Regions from separate parts of the Homo sapiens genome. Here regions 1 and 3 are each linked to region 2. Evidence: promoter capture Hi-C in 16 types of primary human blood cells and fetal thymus (Javierre and others, 2016). All regions are on one chromosome and are shown on one strand. The core of a region is centred on a gene start or on the middle of the fragment in contact, and the rest is flanking DNA. Distances in the headings are between cores, read along the strand shown. Region 1 holds the start of CTDSP1 (CTD small phosphatase 1). Region 2 holds the start of CNPPD1 (cyclin Pas1/PHO80 domain containing 1). Region 3 overlaps ARPC2 (actin related protein 2/3 complex subunit 2).

Evidence for each region. The method cuts DNA at HindIII sites, captures the fragments that hold promoters and counts their contacts. A CHiCAGO score of 5 or more calls a contact.
Region 1: a contact is called between the fragment with the promoter of CTDSP1 here and the fragment with the promoter of CNPPD1 in region 2, in 10 of 17 cell types (non-activated CD4 T cells, naive CD4 T cells, naive B cells and 7 more). The highest score is 13.0, in non-activated CD4 T cells.
Region 3: a fragment that was not itself captured here is called in contact with the fragment with the promoter of CNPPD1 in region 2 in 9 of 17 cell types (activated CD4 T cells, naive CD8 T cells, total CD8 T cells and 6 more); the score reaches 10.2 in activated CD4 T cells.

Annotation. Positions count from the first base shown.
Region 1 is chr2:218,398,547-218,401,407 of GRCh38, forward strand. It overlaps CTDSP1 (CTD small phosphatase 1), which reads left to right and starts at 1,322. Exons shown (of 7, transcript NM_021198.3): 1 at 1,322-1,611. The coding sequence starts at 1,545. RefSeq lists silencers at 1-239, 930-1,299, 1,370-1,449, 1,610-1,769. The HindIII fragment of the contact is 4,794 bases long and covers 1-2,861 here.
Region 2 is chr2:219,175,432-219,178,217 of GRCh38, forward strand. CNPPD1 (cyclin Pas1/PHO80 domain containing 1) reads right to left here and starts at 1,494. Exons shown (of 8, transcript NM_015680.6): 1 at 1,329-1,494; 2 at 792-900; 3 at 160-241. The coding sequence starts at 1,397. RefSeq lists silencers at 1,116-1,410, 1,249-1,308, 1,429-1,638, 1,709-1,758, 2,749-2,786 and an enhancer at 2,539-2,786. The HindIII fragment of the contact is 4,554 bases long and covers 444-2,786 here.
Region 3 is chr2:218,222,211-218,224,935 of GRCh38, forward strand. All of the region lies in intron 2 of ARPC2 (actin related protein 2/3 complex subunit 2), which reads left to right. Among named protein-coding and RNA genes, the nearest start is that of ARPC2, 6.4 kb to the left of the region's middle. RefSeq lists a silencer at 610-659. The HindIII fragment of the contact is 2,321 bases long and covers 194-2,514 here.

The DNA.
Region 1 (2,861 bases), core at 72-2,571, 780 kb before region 2:
CTGGCAGACGCCGCTCCCCTCCCTTCCCCTCCCGGCCCCCGCGCGGGGCCTCCCCTCCCCGGCTCCCCCTCGGCAGGGCCTGGCGGACGTGCGCCGCGTCGCACCCGGCGGCCGGACGGGACAGGACGCGCCCGCCCCGCCCCGCCACGGAGGCCCGCGGGAGAGGGGGAGGGGAGGAAGTGCCGAGGGGTGTTTGTCGGGCTTGGCATTATTAATTTTTAAATGGTGAACTTACAAAATAGTAACGACGAGTGAAAAGAACTTCATAAACGAGGAAAAAGACCAACCCGCAGACCCACGGCGCGCACCACGGAGGGGCTTGCAGCGAGAAGACAGGGACCTCCGTTCCCAAGTGCCCAGCACTGCGCCACAGGCCGGGTGGAACGGGCCTTGAGGGCCTCTGGTTTGAGGTCCCCCACGGTCGGGCTTTGGGCCCACCGCGTGCGGCGCCGTGCTGGGCTCCTAGGATCGGCAGCGAGTCCAGTGACTCCCACCGCACCCCCAGTAATCACAGGGCGGCCGTCGACCGCGGGCAGGGGAGGGGGTCTGGGAAGGCCCCTGGAGAAGGTGGCATTTCCTCGAGGTCGGTGGAATTTGGCTACGCGAAAGGAACAGCGCGTACGAAAACTTCAGGCGGGAACGCGCGGTGGCCCGTGCGCGGCGGGTAGACGTGCGGGGCCCCGGGTGGGGCCGTGGGGAGAGGTCGGCAGGGGGCTTTCCCAGGGCAGAGAGTTAGAATTTCACGTCCTACAGACCGGGGGCACCTCGCCCTGGGGCTGCGGGGGGCGGCGACCGTCCCATTCAAGAGCGTGATTCTGAGGTTTGCACAGCTGTTTCGGGCCAGCAGAGCCTTCGCTGGCTCTTGACGTCCTTGCGAGGTGATCTCTGCGACCACCAGACAGGAGAGAAGACCCATTTTACAGATGAGGTAGTGCTATCTCCAAGTCCTCAACGAGGAAACCGAGAAGCCTCTAGTCCCGGGTCTTCAGAAAACGCAGAGGTGGAGCCGCGCCGCACTCGGGCACTCCCCGGCGTGGGCGCTCCCGGCGGGCGGGCCTTGGCCGAGGGCGCTCGGCGGCCTGGAACGGTGAGCCGGGTGCCGGGCCTGCCACGCAGCCGCAGAGACTCAGCCCCGCCGGCGGGCGGCAGGAAGGGAGGCGACGCCCCCTGGAGCGCGGCAGGAACCCGGCCCGGCCCGCCTCCCAGTCCGCCTAGCCGCGCCGGTCCCAGAAGTGGCGAAAGCCGCAGCCGAGTCCAGGTCACGCCGAAGCCGTTGCCCTTTTAAGGGGGAGCCTTGAAACGGCGCCTGGGTTCCATGTTTGCATCCGCCTCGCGGGAAGGAAACTCCATGTTGTAACAAAGTTTCCTCCGCGCCCCCTCCCTCCCCCTCCCCCCTAGAACCTGGCTCCCCTCCCCTCCGGAGCTCGCGGGGATCCCTCCCTCCCACCCCTCCCCTCCCCCCCGCGCCCCGATTCCGGCCCCAGCCGGGGGGGAGGCCGGGCGCCCGGGCCAGAGTCCGGCCGGAGCGGAGCGCGCCCGGCCCCATGGACAGCTCGGCCGTCATTACTCAGATCAGCAAGGAGGAGGCTCGGGGCCCGCTGCGGGGCAAAGGTACCGGGGCTGCGGGGAGGGGGCCGAAGCCGGGGCGCCGTGGGAGGAGAGAAGGGGCCGGGATCTTCCCCAGGGGAGCCGCCGCCGCCGCCCCGGGCGGCCGCCTTAGCTGTGCCCGAAGCTCCCAGCCCGAGAGGGAGCAGGGAGAGAGTTTGAACTCAGAGGAGGCTCAGAGACGCGGGGCGGGGCCTGGCGCCTTTGGGGCGCTCCTGTTCGCTCGAGGTGAGGAAACTGAGGCAGGAATAGAGAGGGAACTCTTCGGGGGTTTCCTGGCAGGCATTGCGTGGTGCATGGGCGCCCCCCCACCATTGGCGCCAATGGGGCTGGGAGATGGGGGAGCTGAGGAGGGCGCCTATGGGCCACCCGCTGAGACTCCGCCCCACCCCCCACCCCCACCCCCCCGGGCTGCGGTCCGGTAGGGTCTTGGGAGGGGGCGCCGAGGTGACAGCAGGCTGGGGAGGCTTGGAGGGATCTCCCGCCAACACACAGCTACGTTCCCCACAAACTTCGCGTCACGCGTGGAGGCGCCGACCCCCTCGGAGGCACAGAGAGGACGGCCGGCACTTCCAAGAGTCGCTTGGCGCCCGCGGGGAGAGTCGTGCGCCTAGTGGGCACGCACCACCCCGCAAAGCCTCGCCGCCCCGACGAGGCTGCGTCCCCCAGCGTGGCTGGGCCGGGGTGGGGGGGTCTGTCTTCTCCTTTTCCCCGTGTGGACCTCAGGATCTGGACGCTGCCCCCAGGTCTGCCCACCCTCGCCTGGGTCTGGCTGCCCCGGAACTGAGGGCAAGGTGGAAAGGCTAGTTGCAGGGGGCCGGAGGGGGGTGGGGTGGGAGGGGTATCTGTCAATCAGGCTGCTGGGCTCCAGGTCGGAGGTCTGGGCGGGGCAGGGCAAACAGATGGCCACTGGACACTGGCCCCAGGCCGCGGGACTGCACCCCTGCCTCTGGGCCCAGCCGCAGTGAGGACTTCGTACCCACGGGGGTGGAGAGGATGGAGGGAGGGCAGGGGTGGACTGCCCTGGGTCCCAGGCCCTGGCTGTCCTGAGCAGGGGTGCTCAGGTAAGGTGGGGTCAGGAGGCACCGCAATGGGGCTGATCAGCAGCAGTCATGGAGGCTGTGAGAGGCAGGGAGAGAGCACCCCAGGACCTCCTTCTCCAGGCCACGCACTCCCTATGTGGGCGCCTTAATACCTGCTAGACCTATTTGTCTGGGAGCTGCAGGAGCCTTGCAGTTGATTGTGGAGCCCTGACA
Region 2 (2,786 bases), core at 244-2,743:
GGTTGCGGTGAGCCGAGATTGTGCCACTGCACTCCAGCCTGGGTGACAAAGTGAGACTGTCTCAAAAAAAAAAAAAAGAAAGAAAGAAAAGAAAGAAAAGACGATTCCCCTTTCTCTAGGGCCCAAACACTCTCATCCTATCCTCATTTCCAGGCTCACCGGGACACATGAGCTACATATTTCTTCTGGAGTCGGCGAATAGGGCTGGGGGCTGCCTTCTGGAGCAGTTCGACAGCAATGTCTGCAAGGGACAGAAGGAAGGCCGAGTGAGCAAACAAGCACCCACACCCAACACACCAGTCCCCACTGCTAGCAGAAGACCCAGATCTGTATTTTCTGAGGCCTTGGGGACAGGACCATAGTAACAAAATAGAGATCAAATTCTCACACACTGAGACAAAAAGCCCATTCCAAGTTCGAATTTCAGCTCATTCTAACAGGAAAGCTTATTGCCCTGTCACATCAAACTATCCAGATTTATCTGTCACTGCTGTTCATCTGTGGCATAAACATGCCTTGTTTACTTGGGGAACATATGATGGATATCCTTCGAAAATTAGCTTTTCAATATATAAATCAAGAGTGATTTGTATAGATATATGTGGCAGCAATGTTTTTTATTCATTTGGGCTAAAAGAATGGGAAATGCAAACTGCCCTCTTGAACCAAGTACCAACGAGCTAGCAATGAAGAGACAGTGTAGCCACGGGGCAAACCTCGAGCCATTTTCTGCCTGATGACAATCCCATTTTCATGCTTCTCACTTGTCCAGTCACACAACACTGCCTAACCTGCCACCGGGCTGGAGAGCTCCTCCAGGCTACAGTCGGCTTCCCAGTCCCAGCCATAGTAGAGCCTCCTTCGGATCCGGGCACTCAGCTTCTGGTGTCCTGGGAGGAACTGAAACAGGGCAGGGGCAGCGGAGGGTGAAGGGCACGGAAAGGTATGATGCAGATCCTGGCTCTGGGCTGGAAGGCGGGGCAGGGGACAGGCCGGCCTCGCTGCTAGGGGGCCCGTGCCTTACCCAGACCCGCGTTCTGTAAATCGCTTGCCAATGGCAGCCTGGTCCATAGAGGGAGGAATGCCCCCACCCCCATCGAGGGTTCCCCGGGAGAAGTTCTCCGAGAAGGGCCCTCGTGTGGCCACCCCTACGCCCATTCCTATACTCCGCGGCTCTCCCTCCCGGCCCAAGCAGCCGCGGCCTCAAGGAAGCACTGCTCGAGCAGCTGCCGCCCAGTCCCGGCACAGCAGTCAGGCGAGCTCGCAGCGCCGCTCAGGCCGGGAGGGGCGCGCCGGGAGGCCGGGGAGGGGGCGGGACCCCCACTCACCGTGAAGTCCTGGAAGCCGGCGAGGGAGAAGGTGCCTTCTTCGTCCAGCAGGAGCCCGGTCAGGTCCATCGCGCCGCCAGTCGCCGCCCTGCGAAGGTGAACGGAAGGAAACGAGTTGTAGGGGGCTCGCGGAGCTGTCCTTGCCCGCCTGTCCACCTGCCAGCCTGCCTCCCCGGGGCGGGCCGCCGTCCTCGCCCTCGCCCTCGCAGCTCCCTCCCCCCGGCGGCGGAAGGCGGGGCCCGGGCTGAACTGGGCGCCTCTTCCTGTTCCGCCCCGGGCTTGGCGCGGCGCGCGGGGGCCCTAGGCCCGGGAAGGGAGGTGTCAAGCGTCCGTGCGACGCTCACCTCGCGGAGCAGAAAGGAGATGCGGCTGCGAGGCGCGTACTCCGCCTGTGCCGCGTCCGCCCGGCGTTTACAAGCCGCGGGGGTGCCGCCTGCAAGTCAGCGCCTGGCACTTCCTGCCGCCCATCTGGCCCAGCCTCCCGCCCCGACCCGCGGGCAGGAACCGGACTCGAACTCCTGGTCTCACGGAACGTGGCCAAGCCCCAGGCGCCTCTGAGAAATGGGGACAATTCGTAGGGGGGACCACGCCGCACTGAGGATGAACAAGCCAGGCGTAGCAATGGAGAAGTTAATGTGAATAAGACGAAACGCACAACAGGAAGTTGTTCCCAGTTGCTTTTTAGGAGAGATATTATACATACTCAGCAATGCATATGAAAAGCGTCTGAAAGGACACACAGGAAATTTAGCAGTGGGTGAACTATGAAAAGGAAGAGAAACTCAGGGTGTTTTTTTTTTTTACTGTAATTTGAACTTTTAAACCTAAGGCTACTGAGGAAATTCTGTGATCTTAAGCGAATGTAAGGCCTCAAAACGTGTCAACACGTCCACCCAAAAGTAAACTGCATCTACCCAAGGTTTTGTGTTGAAACCCACCTCCCGCCTCCGATCTCATGCTTGAGTAGGCCGAGGTGGGAAGAAGCTCCGATATGTGGAAGTGGGAAAGTTTAAGGAGATAGGAAAGAAACAACTTTTCTGAGTAGATGTTGTTTTCGAGTCTGTCGAGTCAAGCGCTGGTGTGTGTTTGTTTACCCACTGAGGGGAGGGAACTGGGAGGACCAGTGCGTTGAGGGTTGGTTGAGTAATGGGACGGCCACCGCCCTTCCCGAGCGAGCAGAAGCAGACCCTACCGGGGATACTGGGAATCTGGAAGCCCACTTCCTGCCCCACACGGGGATACCGGGGCAGCACCACACTCCCTAGCCGCCCTGCCTACTGTGGGATAAGAAAACGGGCTCGACTGCCTGGACCTAGACCCGGACTCGGAACCCGGGGTACTTCGTCAACCAGAAAACGAACCTGTGTAGGCGCAGTGTCAGCGGCAGCCGCCGGGGCGCATGCGCGGCCCGCCCTATCCGGGGGGGGGGGGGTTAGGCCGCGTCACGTGACGGGCTCA
Region 3 (2,725 bases), core at 104-2,603, 950 kb before region 2:
GAGCAGAGGTGGCACCACTGCACTCCAGCCTGGGTGACAGAGCGAGACCCCATCTCAAGAAAAAAGAAAAAAATGGGGAATTGGATCCTAGGGTGCATTCAGGAGTAAAAACCCCAAAGTTGTTAATGAGAAAAGAAGATGAGATAATACAGTTGCCAGAAGCCCTTTCTGGATTGATTATTGACATTCTAGAAGCTTCCTTAGAGAAAAGATAGAAGAAAATTTTTTCTAAAGGGTTTTAAGAATAGCTCTTAAAACCTGTCTGAATGAATTGATTATGTTTTAGTGTCTTGGGTTGTCCAGGCAGTAACTCTGAGGACTTACCCAGCCGGCTTGTTCTAGGATTCCAGACATTACAGCAGTCTGACACTTATAGGAGTTCTGTTTTTCCTTGTACTGCTAACCAATTCCTGATTCAGGGAATTACCGCAATCCTAAAACCTCTCCCAACCACAGCTTCAGAGTCCGATCTCTGACTCCACCTAGGAGAAGAACTAATTTATTGATTACCTTCTATGAGCTAGGCACTGTGCTATATGCCTTAACATGGTTTCATTTCATTTCTGTGACAGATAGTGGATCTCATTTACAACTGAGAAAACCAGGGCTCTTGAGGATTGGGGGTGGGGGTAGATATTGAATAAGTAACTACTACATATTAAGTAAGCACCGTGCAGGCATCCTTCACTGTGATTCTTGACCTTGTTTATCGTATGGCACACAGAACATGATTGTATTTGTATGGCACATTTGGGTAAATGGTCTAGCCTCTCAGAGATCCTGCCACCTGCTGCCTGCCCTAAGGGATATGGGGATCATTACCTCAGCATATCTATAACTTAAAAGACACCGTTTGAGAAACTTTGCTGTACAGTAGTCCCCCCTTATCTGTGGTTTTGCTTTCTGCAGTTTCAGTTACCTGCAGTGAGCAGTGAACCATGGTCTGAAAATATTAAATGGAAAATCCCAGAAATAAACAATCCATTAATTTTAAATTGTGCACCATTCTGAGTAGCATAATGAAATCTTGCGCTGTCCCGCCCAGGACATGAATCATCTTTTTGTCTAGCATATCTACAGTGTGTACGCTACCCTCTGTTAGTCGCTTAATAGCTGTCTAGGTTATCAGATTGACTGTCACAGCATTGTAGTGCTTGTGTTCAAGTTACCCTTATTTTACTTAATAATGGCTCCAAAGTACAGGAGTAATGATGCTGGCAATTTGGATATGCCAAAGAGAACCCATGAAGTGATTCCTTTAAGTAAAAAAAGTGACCTTGGTGTTTCTTTGCTACAGTTCAGTGCTATCCACACTTTTATTTATCCACTGGGTGTCTTGGAACATATCCCCCACAGATAAGGGGAGACTGCTGTACTGCTGGACATATATCATCTCAGTCTTCACACCAACCTGGGAGGTAGATGTTTTGTCCCCATTTTGTAGAAGAGGAACCTGAGGCCCGGTGACATTTGAGGAGCATTGCCTGTGGTCACATAGCCAATAAATTCTGAATTCTAAATAACTTGCTTTTTCTCACCCCCAGCATCTGAAATTTTAGCAGCTGGTAGAACAGTAAATAATGTAACTATTAATTCTGGGGGCCTATTTAGTGGAACACTTTTCCTGGGCCAGTCTTCCTCCCGCTCCTTTGTAATTTTAAACCACAGAAGTAAAATAACAAACGCCAGGTCTTGGAATTGAGAAGCAATCTTGTGATGGTATACTTCACGCTCAGCAAACTCATCGTTAAGGCACTGAGTTCTCGGACCTCTAACTCCCAGAAGACTTCCCATGAAGTCTCCTTTGGCCTAATACTCTCCTCAGCAGCCATTCTCTCTCTTCTAGCCATAAATAGTAAACTAAAATATTAATGAATGTGATTTGACAAATATTGCTAAGTCAGACAGCAGACCACTTAAGATCGATCGTAGCAACTTTTCCCACAAGGATCTGTGCTCAGGATACTTTATGCCTAGAGAAATTTGAAATTAGAGACTCAAAGTGTGTATGACTTGGAGCCCAAAGGTTATTTATTTATAGTTGGTTTTTCTCAGGTCTTTTGACAAAGTAGGAGAGTGAGGAACTCAGCCCTTCTTTGGCTGAATTAAAACCTAAAGGTTAAAAAAAAACTTACTAAGTGATGTAATAATGGGCTTTTATAAACTCCCTGACTCTTCAGCACAGTCAGCCTTCCCCAGGAAAGTATGCTTCCATGCTTCCTCCCATTGGTCATCCTCTTAATATTTCATTCAGTTGGTCCATGATTAACATTTCCATATTTTTGTTCTTTGCTCTTGTTTTCTAGAGGTGAGGAATGGTATTGGACTCGTTGCCTTTGTTTCCTGGCTACAGTTTCAAAATGAAGGCTCAGAAGCAATTTAAATTTTCATCTAGTTTTTTCCTTCTATTCTGAACTCTCTGCTTCTCCGTAAACCCACTTGATACTTCAATTCGTAGAGATACCCAGTGCGCTTTTCCTAAGTCACATATAGGGCTTTGAAGAAGCAAGGTGAAGCTTTGTATGATTCGTATAGGTTGATTTTTCAGCAGGGCTAGCATGCTTCATAGAAGCCAGTTTTTTTGAAAGGTATTGTCTGGCTTCTATATCAGCTTTTTAACACTCATAAACCATGTTATATATTCCATTATTTCCCAGCATCCCTGGAGAGCAACTTAGTCTTCGTTTCTTTCGCAGGTAATGGAGCAGAGATCGTGGAAAGATAC